2 separate regions of the Homo sapiens genome follow, and region 2 is linked to region 1. The links are contacts of gene promoters, found by promoter capture Hi-C in human tissues and cell types (Jung and others, 2019). All regions are on one chromosome and are shown on one strand. The core of a region is centred on a gene start or on the middle of the fragment in contact, and the rest is flanking DNA. Distances in the headings are between cores, read along the strand shown. Region 1 holds the start of SMPD4 (sphingomyelin phosphodiesterase 4). Region 2 holds the start of LINC01856 (long intergenic non-protein coding RNA 1856).

Evidence for each region. The method cuts DNA at HindIII sites, captures the fragments that hold promoters and counts their contacts. A contact is called where the count stands out against the background at its distance.
Region 2: a fragment that was not itself captured here is called in contact with the fragment with the promoter of SMPD4 in region 1 in 1 of the 25 tissues and cell types used here (bladder).

What each region holds. Positions count from the first base shown.
Region 1 is chr2:130,178,490-130,184,104 of GRCh38, forward strand. It overlaps SMPD4 (sphingomyelin phosphodiesterase 4), which reads right to left and starts at 3,113. Exons shown (of 20, transcript NM_017951.5): 1 at 3,041-3,113. It overlaps MZT2B (mitotic spindle organizing protein 2B), which reads left to right and starts at 3,773. Exons shown (of 3, transcript NM_025029.5): 1 at 3,773-3,963; 2 at 4,138-4,286. The coding sequence starts at 3,794. RefSeq lists enhancers at 2,025-2,821, 4,722-5,458, 5,459-5,615 and silencers at 2,869-3,008, 3,519-4,028. The HindIII fragment of the contact is 11,545 bases long and covers 1-5,615 here.
Region 2 is chr2:129,921,565-129,927,049 of GRCh38, forward strand. LINC01856 (long intergenic non-protein coding RNA 1856) reads left to right here and starts at 1,613. Exons shown (of 4, transcript NR_110285.1): 1 at 1,613-1,717. It also overlaps the pseudogene PLAC9P1. RefSeq lists enhancers at 920-1,735, 1,736-2,549. The HindIII fragment of the contact is 5,757 bases long and covers 1-4,771 here.

The DNA.
Region 1 (5,615 bases), core at 1,863-4,362:
GCCATGAGAAAACTAGGATCAAAGGCCGGGCACCATGGCTCACACCTGTAATCCCAGCACTTTGGGAGGCCGCGGTGGGCAGATCACTTGAGGCCAGGAGTTTGAGACCAGTCTGGCCAACGTGGCAAAACCCCATCTCTACTAAAAATATAAAAATTAGCTGGGTGTGGTGGCGGGCACCTGTAGTCCCAGCAACTCGGGAGGCTGAGGCATGAGAAATGCTTGAGCCCAGGAGGCGGAGGTTGCAGTGAGCCAAGATCACACCATTGCACTCTAGCCGGGGTGATAGAGGGAAACTCTCAAAAAATGGAAAAAAAAAAAGAAAAAAAAAGAAAGAAAACTAAGATCAGCTTTCCAGAATCCTACCTCTCAGCTCACCCAGGTCAGAAATGAAAAATGCTCAGACCTAGACTTCACAGACAGGAAGTCTGCCAAGTCCCACTGGTGGGCTAGTTACAGTTTTCATGGCCCAGCTCTGCCCACTGCACAAGTAAAGGCACTGGGGTGACACCTGGCAGTCTGTGGAGGAAGAGAGGCTGGGTGTAAAGAGGCCATGTAGGCAGCTGTAGAGTGAGAGGAGACAGGAATCTCTGCCTCTCGGCAATAGGAACATCTCCCAAGTTTTTTCAATTCTTTTTTTTTTTTTTTTTTTGAGACAGAGTCTCGCTCTGTTGCCCAGGCTAGAGTCCTGTGGCGCTATCTTGGCTCACTGCAAGCTCCGCTTGGGTTCACGCCATTCTCCTGCCTCAGCCTCCCGAGTAGCTGGGACCACAGGCACTGGCCACCACACCCGGCTAATTTTTTTGTATTTTTAGTAGAGACGGGGTTTCACTGTATTAGCCAGGATGGTCTCGATCTCCTGACCTCGTGATCCGCCTGCCTCGGCCTCCCAAAGTGATGGGCTTACAGGCATGACCCACCGCGCCCAGCCTCTTTTTTCTTTTTTTGACTGAGTCTCACTCCATCATCTCACTGCAACCTCCACCTCCAAAGTTCAAACGGTTCTCGTGCCTCAGCCTCCCGAGTAGCTGGGATTACAGGGGCCTGCCACCACAGGCTGCCTAATTTTTCTATTTTTAGTAGAGGCGGGTTTCCCTATGCTGGCCAGGCTGGTCTCAAATTCCTGGCCTCAAGTGATCCGCTGCCTCAGCCTCCCAAAGTGCCGACTTTTTCAATTCTTTTTTGAGATGGAGTCTCGCTCCGTTGCCAAGCTGGAGTCCAATGGCATGATCTCGGCTCACTGCAACTTCCGACTCCCTGGTTCAAGCAATTCTCCTGCCTCAGCCTCCCGAGTAGCTGGAATTACAGGCACATGCCACCACATCCAGTTAATTTTTGTATTTTTAGTAGAGATGGGGTTTCACTATGTTGGCCAGACTGGTCTCAAACTCCTGACCTCGTGATCAGCCCTCCTCGGCCTCCCAAAGTGCAGAGATTACAGACGTGAGTCACCATGCCCGGCCGCTTTTTCTTTTTTCTCCTTTTTTTTTTTTTGAGATGGTCTCGCTCTGTCGCCCAGAGTGGAGTGCAGTGGCGCGATCTGGGCTCACTGCAAGCTCCGCCTCCCGGGTTCACGCCATTCTCCTGCCTCAGCCTCCCTAGTAGCTGGGATTACAGGCGCCCGCCACCACGCCCGGCTAATTGTTTTTTGTATTTTTAGTAGACAGGGTTTCACGTGTTAGCCAGGATGGTCTCGATCTCCTGACCTCGTGATCCGCCCGCCTCAGCCTCCCAAAGTGCTAGGATTACAAGCGTGAGCCACTGCGCCCGGCCAGCTTTCTCTTTTTCTTTTTTCAGACGGAGTCTCGCTCTGGGCTCTGTCGCACAGGCTGGAGTGCAGTGGCGCGATCTCAGCTCACTGCAACCTCCGCCTCGCGGGTGCAAGCAATTCTCTTACTCAGCCTCCCAAGTGGCTGGGATTACAGGCGCCCGCTACCACGCCCGGCTAATTTTTGTATTTTTTACTAGAGACGAGGTTTCACCATCTTGGCCAGGCTGGTCTTGAACTCCTGACCTCGTGATCCACCCGCCTGGGCCTCCCAAAGTGCTGGGATTACAGGCGTGAGTCACCGCTCCCGGCCTCAATTCTTAACCTAGCTATCAACTGCAGTGTTAAAGAAAAACGCCTCAGTCCTAAGGCACTTGGTCAAGAAAACGCTGCACTACTACAAAATGATCAAAGCAGCATTAAACTGTGGACTGTTCGGTAAGTGCGGAGCTCTAGAGACGATGAAGGGGAGAGCATCTCTGCTCAGAAGAAGCTTTCATGGGCAGCGACTGAAAGAATGAGGCCCAGAGGAATTTCTAGGAAATTTCCAAGAAAGGAAATTCAAACCCGAGAATTCCCAAGAGGTGTCTCCCACACCCCTGTTATCTGACTCTGCCATGGCCACCCTCCCCCGTCACAGGTCTCTGCGTGCCATGCACCTAGAGTCCACTTCATGGCGACTCTCCAACACCTATTTTCTCCAGGAGCTGCTTCGGACCCCGTTTGTTTTTTGTTTTGTTTTGTTTTTCTGACAGCGACAGCCCTTGGGCAACGCTAATCATTCCAAGCAAATTCTGTCATGCCAAGACCTCCCTTAACAGCACGCGCCCACTTGTTCCCAACTCTCCTGCCAATTGGGCTTCGGGAGCCTCCAAAACCAAGGCTCGGAGATGTGGAGCACACAGGGGAAGGGTCGAGCTGGGACCCACACCCGGCTCTTACACCCACACCGCCTGTTGAGCCCAAGGCTCAACTTCAACACAAAGCTCTCCTTCCCTCAATTCCTTCAACGAAGGTTAACCTTCAGCGAACACCTACCGGACCGGGACAGAGTGTACGAGCCGCGCGGGAAGGTGGCACAAAGGCATGGCCCAGAGGGGTGGCAGAAGACTCAACCGGGGCCCTCCACTCCCCAGCCTGCCCTGCCTGGGCAGAGCCGGCTGGCCGGCCCGAGTCCTGGGGCTCGCGGAGGAACGGAGATGGCCTCCGCAGGGGCTCGGGGAAGCCCCCAGGGCGCCGGACCGTCTCAGGCGCGCATCCCGCGCCACTCACCTGTGGGATCCATAGCGTCGCTCGCCTCAGAGATGGAAGCCGCCATTCCGCCACGGCGCCGAAAGTCGTCATCAAGCTGCGCGCAGAGCCACGCCCCGCGGCCGGGCGGGAAAAGCGCTTCCACCTCTTTGGGCCGTTACCTCAAAAGGCGCGTGCGCAAAGCGAAGGCCGGCCGGGCGGGGAAGAGAAATGGCGAGGCAGGAGTGCGGGGGAGGGAGTGGTCCTTAGCTGAATGCGCCTGCGTTGTGGCGGCCTCCGGCGCCCCAAGGTACTTTCTCCCCAGCAAGGAATCCGCGTGCGCGTAAGCAGTATTGTTGATTAGTGCCCCCCCCTTCCCCCCGCCCGCCCCGAAAAGCGACCCCTAGTGGTGCACCGGTGCGGACCAGAAAATTGCACGCTTTCTTGAAAGAGGCATTTACCGAGCGCCCAATGTATGCCTGGCACTGGGCTGGGTGCTGCCACCTAAGCGAGCACGACCAATGCAGTCTATCAGGGAGGCCCAGATCGCCAAGCAGCGGACCCCTGCGGTCCGCCATGCCACTCCCGGCTCCTAGAGCGCCGCTCAGCACACCGTGAGCGCCCAATAACTGTTGGGCTTCAATGACGCCGCGGAGGCGGCCCCGTCCCCGCGCTCCCGCCCCTCCCGCCAGGGCAGCCCGGGAGGCCAGACGTTGACGCTGCAGGGAGAGGGTGGTGGGCGCAGCCGCTAGGGGGCGCGGCGGGGCGGAGCGCACCTTTCCGCGGGCCGCGGGGATGGCGGCGCAGGGCGTAGGGCCTGGGCCGGGGTCGGCGGCGCCCCCGGGGCTGGAGGCGGCCCGGCAGAAGCTGGCGCTGCGGCGGAAGAAGGTGCTGAGCACCGAGGAGATGGAGCTGTACGAGCTGGCGCAGGCGGCGGGCGGCGCTATCGACCCCGACGTGTTCAAGTGAGCGGGGCGGGTGGGGGCCGCATGCTAGCCAGACACCCCCCGACCTCTGCTTTCCGGGTACGCCCGGCCCGCTGGTCGGGAGGAGCCCCCGCCCCCGTCCTTGTCGGGTCTTCAGGGAGGTGGCCGCGCCGGGCGGAGAGGGCTCACCGGCCCCGCGTCTGTCCCCGCCAGGATCCTGGTGGACCTGCTGAAGCTGAACGTGGCCCCCCTCGCCGTCTTCCAGATGCTCAAGTCCATGTGTGCCGGGCAGAGGCTAGCGAGCGAGCCCCAGGACCCTGCGGCCGTGTCTCTGCCCACGTCGAGCGTGCCCGAGACCCGAGGTCAGAGCTGGGCCCGCTGTCCCTGCCCCAGTGGCGGGGGTGGCGGGCGGGGAGGGGGCAGGCGCGGCACAGCGGCGGCGTGGCCCTGAGTGGCCAGGCCTGTCTGTCGGTCTAGGCCCAGCACCTGCAGGGCCCATCCGTGGGCTCTGCTCCTGGGCTTCGCTGCCAGCCTTAGGAGGCACGTCCAGGTCAGGTGGACGCAGAGTGCGTACCCCAGGGTGGTCCAGGCTGGGTAGGGCTCCTCCGCTTAGCTCCCCTCCACCTCTTCACTCAGGCCTTCATCCTACAACGTCGGGAATCAAGACAGTTTGGGGCTGGGCGCCCTGGCTCACGCCTATAATCTTTGGGACCCCAGGGCGGGAGGATCGTTTGAGGCCATGAGTTTTAGACCACTCTGGGTGACAGGGTGAGATCCTGTCTCTAAATGTTTTTCAAAAGACAGTCTCGATCTCTGTCCTGTGGTATACAGCATCCAGGGAAGTGCCCAGGGACCAGGGCAGGCAGAGGTCTTCCTGCCTTTACCCCACCTGGGCCCAGTTCCTGCGCAGGGGCTTGGCCAGTCCTGGTCAGCTTTCCCTCTGATGACTGCAGGAAGAGAGTCAGACGCGGAACTCCCAGGGTGCAGAGGCCTGCGGGGTCTGAAGGGCCTCCTCCCTCTCCAGTGTGGTGACTGGGCTGAGGAGATTCTGGGACTGAGAGTGTCATGGTGGAGCCTCTGTCCCTGCTCATCCTCTCCGCATGTTGCTTCTGCTCCCGATGGCTCTCTCTGAAATGCAGCACAACCTCCTAGGCCAATGGAAGAAGGCCCAGAGCTGGCTCCCTGCCTGGAAGCACGAGGAGACCCGCACAGGCATCCTGAGAAGGCGTGGAGAGCAGGCTGCCTTCATGGGGGGAGTGCCAGGGCCTGGGCACCCACACCCGCTGACCCAAGAGGGCCCGGGCACCTGCGTGCTGGCCTCTTCACTGACCTTCGCTCTGTCTGCTCTCTTTGTGTCTCTCTCTGACCTCCAGAGGCCTCCTTTCTCTCTGCCAGGAACAGTAGCCCCCCTGCAAGGCCCTCCTTTTCCTCCAGCCCGCAGCCTGCGGCCTCTCCGGTTCTGCTCCACAGCCCGGCTGCCACACACTCGCCTCTCTCTCCAGGCCCCCCGGGTTCCCTCCGCCTCTCTTGCTGCCTGTTCTCTCCTTTTGCAGGTTGCGTTTATTGGCTTATCTCTGGGGGTTGGTGCTCTCCCTTGTTTCCATGGAAACTGCCTGGCCCCAGGAGGCCCAAGCAGCTTTGAGCTCCAAGGGCAGGACCATGCAGGCCATCGCTGCCCTGCCGCTTAGCCA
Region 2 (5,485 bases), core at 643-3,142, 260 kb before region 1:
GGAGAGTTACGTGAAAAACAACCACGTATGCCAGCAACACTGCTCTTGAACTTTGGGTCTTGATTAAGTGAATGAAGTGTTGCTGGAACACAAGCACTGTGATACTGTGGCCGTTAACCTGGTAACGGAGAAGGCTCCTAAGTGACTAACAGGCTGGAAGTGTAGACAGCGTGGACCATGCTGGACAAAGGGAGCGTTCATGTCCCGGGTGGGACAAAGTGGGATGGCGAGGGATTTCATCACGCCACTTAGAATGATGTGCAATTGAAAACTCATATATTGTTTATTTCTGGAGTTTAATCTTTTAGGACTGTGGTTGACTTCAGGTAACTGAAACCATGGAAGGTGAAACCACAGATAAAGCAGGACTACTGTATTTAAAATGTCCAGAGGAGGCAAGTTCATGGAGACAGAGATCAGTGGTTTCCAGGGGGGGTGGGGGGCAGCAGGAATGGGATGTGACTGCTTGATAGATACAGAGTTTCTTTCTAGAGTGAGAACAATGTTCTGGAACTGGCGGTGATGACTGCACAACTTCTGAATGTACTGGACGCCACTGCATTTGTACAATTTATTTATTTTATTATCATTATTTTTTTGAGACAAGGTCTCACTCTGTCACCCAGGCTGGAGTGCAGTGGCACAATCATGGCTCACCGCAGCCTTGGTCTCCAGGGCTCAGGTGATCCTCCTACCCCAGCCTCCTGAGTAGCTGGGATTACAGGCATGCACCACCATGCCACCATGCCAGGCTAATTTTTGTATTTTTTGTAGGGATGGGGTTTCACCATGTTGTCCAGGCTGGTCTCAAACTCCTGGGCTCAAGTGATCCTCCTACCTTGGCCTCCCAAAATGCTAGGATTATAGGCGTAAGCCACTGCCCCCAGCCTTACACAATTTAAAATGGTTAGAATGATGAATTTTACATTGAATTCCACTTCATAGGAAATTTTTTTTAAAACAACAACAAACCTCTTTAATGGACACATAAATTCCCTGGGGGTCTGATTGCAATGCAGATTTGGATTAAGGAGTCCGGGTGGGTCCTGAGACCGTGCTCCCCTTGCTTCTCACCTATGGCCACATTTTGAGACGCAAGGCCACTCGAAGGGCCCCCACCTCTGTGAATCAACCCCTGCTCCATCTGCCCCTATAAATAAGGGAATGCTAAAGCACAGATGGCGGGAGTGGGCGTGTCCCCAGGTCTGAGCCTGGAGGGGGTGGCCGGCCTCCCCCAGGCATGGAAGTGGAGGGAGAGGGGGCTGTAAACGGGTTACTCTGTCAGCAGACACAGAGGAGACCAAAAACAGTAGCTTTTATTTCACACGAAGCTGAGGAAGGAAGGCGAGAGGACAGCGCTGGCTATCAGAGGGTGCTGCCTGGCAGGTGCACCACCTCCAGCTGCTGGGCTCCAGCTCCGGGGCTCAGAAGCCATCTGAAAGAAAGCAGCGGCCTCCACTGAGCAAGCTGGGGTGCTGCAGGGTACCCGCCCCCGTGGTGCTCAGCAGTGCCTTCCCTCCCCTCCCCAGCCCCCGGGAACTCCTCCTGCGCCAGGGACACAGGGATCAAGGAGAGAACAGAGTGCAACCCCATCCCTGCCTGATCAGTGGGGGTGCCCGTCTTCCCTGCGACGGTTTTGGGGTGGAACAGGAGTGGCTCCTCAGGGGGAAATGAAAGGAACTGAGGAGCTCCAGTCGTGAGAAGGCCAATGAAGCAGGTAGCTTCTCTGCGCCGGGGTTGTGCTGAGATGTCATCTAGGGCCGGCTCTTCCAGAACCTCATTTGACGCTGGGAGGCAGCGACCGGGTGTGGGGGCGGGGTGGTAGGGGAGGGGAGCAGGGATGATGCGGTCCCGATTCCGTCCCCAGGGGGCGCTGGGACCCTCCCTGCTATCCAGGCTACACCTGTGCGGCGTAGCAGCCGTCCCCGTCTCGCCTGCACAGCGCCAGATGACAGCAGCCCAGAGGCTGTCCTCTGCCACCTGCACTGCTCACCTTTTCCGAGGAGGTCGGGGACGGGGCTGAAGGGTCCCCCGGGCAGGTTCCAGGCCAGGTCCTCTAGCAGGCCCAGCAGGCCTTTCACCTGTGTCCCCAGGTGATCCACGGTCTTCTCTACCATCTAGAGTGAGAAGGTGGGTAACGTCCAGGACAGGAGTGGTGCCACGTTCTGCTTCATTAGCCAGGTCCTAAGAAGCAGCTGGCGGTCCAGTGGGGTGCAGTGGAAAAGGACTGGGAGCTGCGGGACCTGGGTTTTCCTCACTCAGGCTCTGCGCCTACCTGCCTCAATCTCCCCAGATGACAATATCCTATGGGGCTCGCTCTCTAAGGCTCCTTCCTTTTTGGCACTCAGTCACAGGTTTGGATAAAGCGCGTGTAGATTACCTTCTCCCTTTTGGACTTTGCAGCCTGGAGCTCACATTCTTTTTGTTATTCTGCTCCCTGGTGGTGTCTCTGCCAAATGACAGGTCTGGGATTTTGAAATTTACTCAGGGTTCTTAATGGTTTTTCCCTGTGTATGCCATGGACCCCATTGGCAGTGTGGTGAAGCCTACAGACCTCTTCTCAGAATAATGCCTTAAATGCAAAAAATAAAACATATAGAATTACCAAGAGCACCAATTGCTTTAAAATATTATTCAAGTATTAGGCCAGGCGTGATGGCTCACACCTATAATCCCAACACTTTGGGAGGCCGAGGTGGACGGATCACCAGAGGTCAGGAGTTCGAGATCAGCCTGGCCAATGTGGGAAAACTGTCTCTACTAAAAATACAAAAAGAAAACGGGCACGGTGATGCATATCTGTAGTCCCAGCTACTCGGGAGGCCAAAGCAAGAGAATCGCTTGAACCGGGAGATGGAGGTTGCAGTGAGCCGAGATCATGCCGTTGCACTCCAGCCTGGGCGACAGAGAGAGACTCTGCCAAAAAAAAAAAAAAAAAAAAAAAAATTCAAATATTTAAAATTAAACTTTTTGGCCCAGCACGATGGCTCACGTCTGTAATCCCAGCACTTTAGGAGGCCGAAATGGGCAAATCCCTTGAGATCAGGAGTTTGAGACAAGCCTGGCCATATGGTGAAACCCCATCTCTACCAAAAATACAAAAAATTAGCGGGGCATGGTGGTGCATGCCTGTAGTCCCAGCTACTCAGGAGGTTGAGGCATGAGAATCACTGGAACCTGGGAGGTGGAGATGGCAGTGAGCCGAGATTGTACCATGCACTTTAGCCTGGGTGACAGAGCAAGACTCCATCAAAAACAAAATTTAAAAATTTGGATATATGTATTGGCCGGGCACAGTGGCTCATACCTGTAATCCCAGCACTTTGGGAGGCTGAGGTGTGTGGATGGCTTGAGCTTAGGAGTTCGAGACCAGCCTGGGCAATATAGCAAAACCTTGCCTCTACAAAAAAATACAAAAATTAGCCAGGCATGGTGGCACATGTGCCTGTAGTCCCAGCTACTTGGGAGGCTGAGGTGGAAGGATTGCTTGAGCCTGGGAGGTGGAAGTTGCAGTGAACCGAGACTGCACCACTGCACTCCAGCCTTGTCGGCAGACAGAGACCCTGCCTCAAAAAAAAAAAAATGTATTTATTAACTCACTAACTCACATGATCTAACATCAGGCCTAACAACAACTGAAATTTTGACATAATGAATGATATAAATGTTCTTCTATTCATAACTAGAAGAAGATGAAATTATCTGGATTTCTATTGGTGACAAAGTTATAGTACTATTAACACCACGGCTTGCTGTCTGTAATTTATGATGAATGGGAATGCTCAATTTCAGTTAAAGGCTTGTGACAATAAAGATGTAAACTTTTCCCCACACAAGTTAGGAATCGTGGCTATATAACAAAACAGTGACTGGATTTCCACCTTCCCATCCAGTAATGATGCTGAAATGTCCTGGTGGGGGTAAGTAAGGCCTTAGGGGAGGCAGGGTCCATTGGGGGCTCGCCAGCCTGGCAGCCTAGATGGGAGGGTGATGTTGGACAAGGTGGCCCCAGGGCAGGATTGGCCTGATGTCCTGACATTCCAAAGCAAGCTTGCATCTGCCCATAAAAACATCATCCTAGAAGGTGGTCCTGAAACCACATGTCCTTCCAAAGCACCCTGTTACCTCCTCTATGACATCTAGATGGCATTGCATAGCCATGTGTCTGTCACATGCTGTGCTCTGAGCTGAGTCTCCTCAGGGAGCGATGAAGGGTTCTGCAGCTGTGGGAAAACAAGTCTTGTCACTGTGGGACCCTTAGTTTTCCACAATGCCAGAGACTTCTGTAAATACTGGGCTCAAGTGAGGTCAGTCCTCAAAGCAAACTCAAGAGCAAGAAGAGGATGGCCCAGGTGGGGGTCAGTGTGCGACTGTCAGTTATCTCAATCCCACCAATCTCTACAGTGGCAGTCACCTACAGACCCAGATGGACTTCCTCAAGGAGGTGAAGCCCAGGGAGGAAGGGAAGGCGGGCTTCAGCCAGGAAGAATGGCACCTGCAATGATGGAGAGGCCTGAAAGAGCATGGCTCACTGTGCAAACCCTGCAGGGAGCCTGCAGTGGCTGGAGATACAGGGTGGGTGGGAGAGAGACTGGAGAGGGAAGTCCTGGAAATGAAGCCAAGGGGACAGAGCTTTAACCAAGAGGCTTTCATAAACCAGTTCTGATGTTTGTTTTTGTTGTTGTTGTTTTGTTTTGTTTTGTTTTTGATGGAGTCTAGCTCTGTTGCCCAGGCTGGAGTGTGATGGTGCAATCTCAGCTCACTCCAACCTCTGCCTCCCCGGTTCAAGCGATTCTCCTGCCTCAGCCTCCCGAGTAGCTGTAGGAATAGTGAGAAAGAAAATGAGAGGAGGTATTTCAGTAGCAGCATTGACACTGGGAACCCATTAGTAACAGCTGTCATGTGATGAGTGCTTACCATGCACCATGTAGGGTGATCACTTAACCTCTCCAACAGCCTGTTCTTATGCCCAATCTACATGTAGGAAAACTGATGCACAGAAGGGTGAAAGGATGTGTCCAGAGTCACTACTCATAAGCAGAGGATCTGCCATTCAACCCGCTCAACTCCTGATTGAGCACTGTTCTCCTTGAGTTAGCTCTTCCAGGCACCATCAACCTTCACAACAGAAGTCTGAGATCCCTGATTCCAAGCTCGGATTTCAGAGTTGGTAACCCTGAGATGCCTGTGGGGCATCAGGGTTGGCTGGAACCTTGGAGAACACTGACACTCAGGAAGGAGAGTGCTGCCCCAGCAGTCAAGAGAAGCCAAGAGCTTTACGGATTCTACAGGGGATGAAAAGTGTTGGCATAGCCGAAAGCAGCAGGGAGGTCTAGCAAAATAAGGACTGGAAACACAGCATGGGAAAGGCCCTGCTAAATTTCACCCCAGCACTTTTAGGAGTGGAGGAAAAGCAGAGTTTGGATTACCATGACATGAGAAGGGAAGGTGAGGTTGGGAGTGGAAACTTGGATTCTGGAAAATT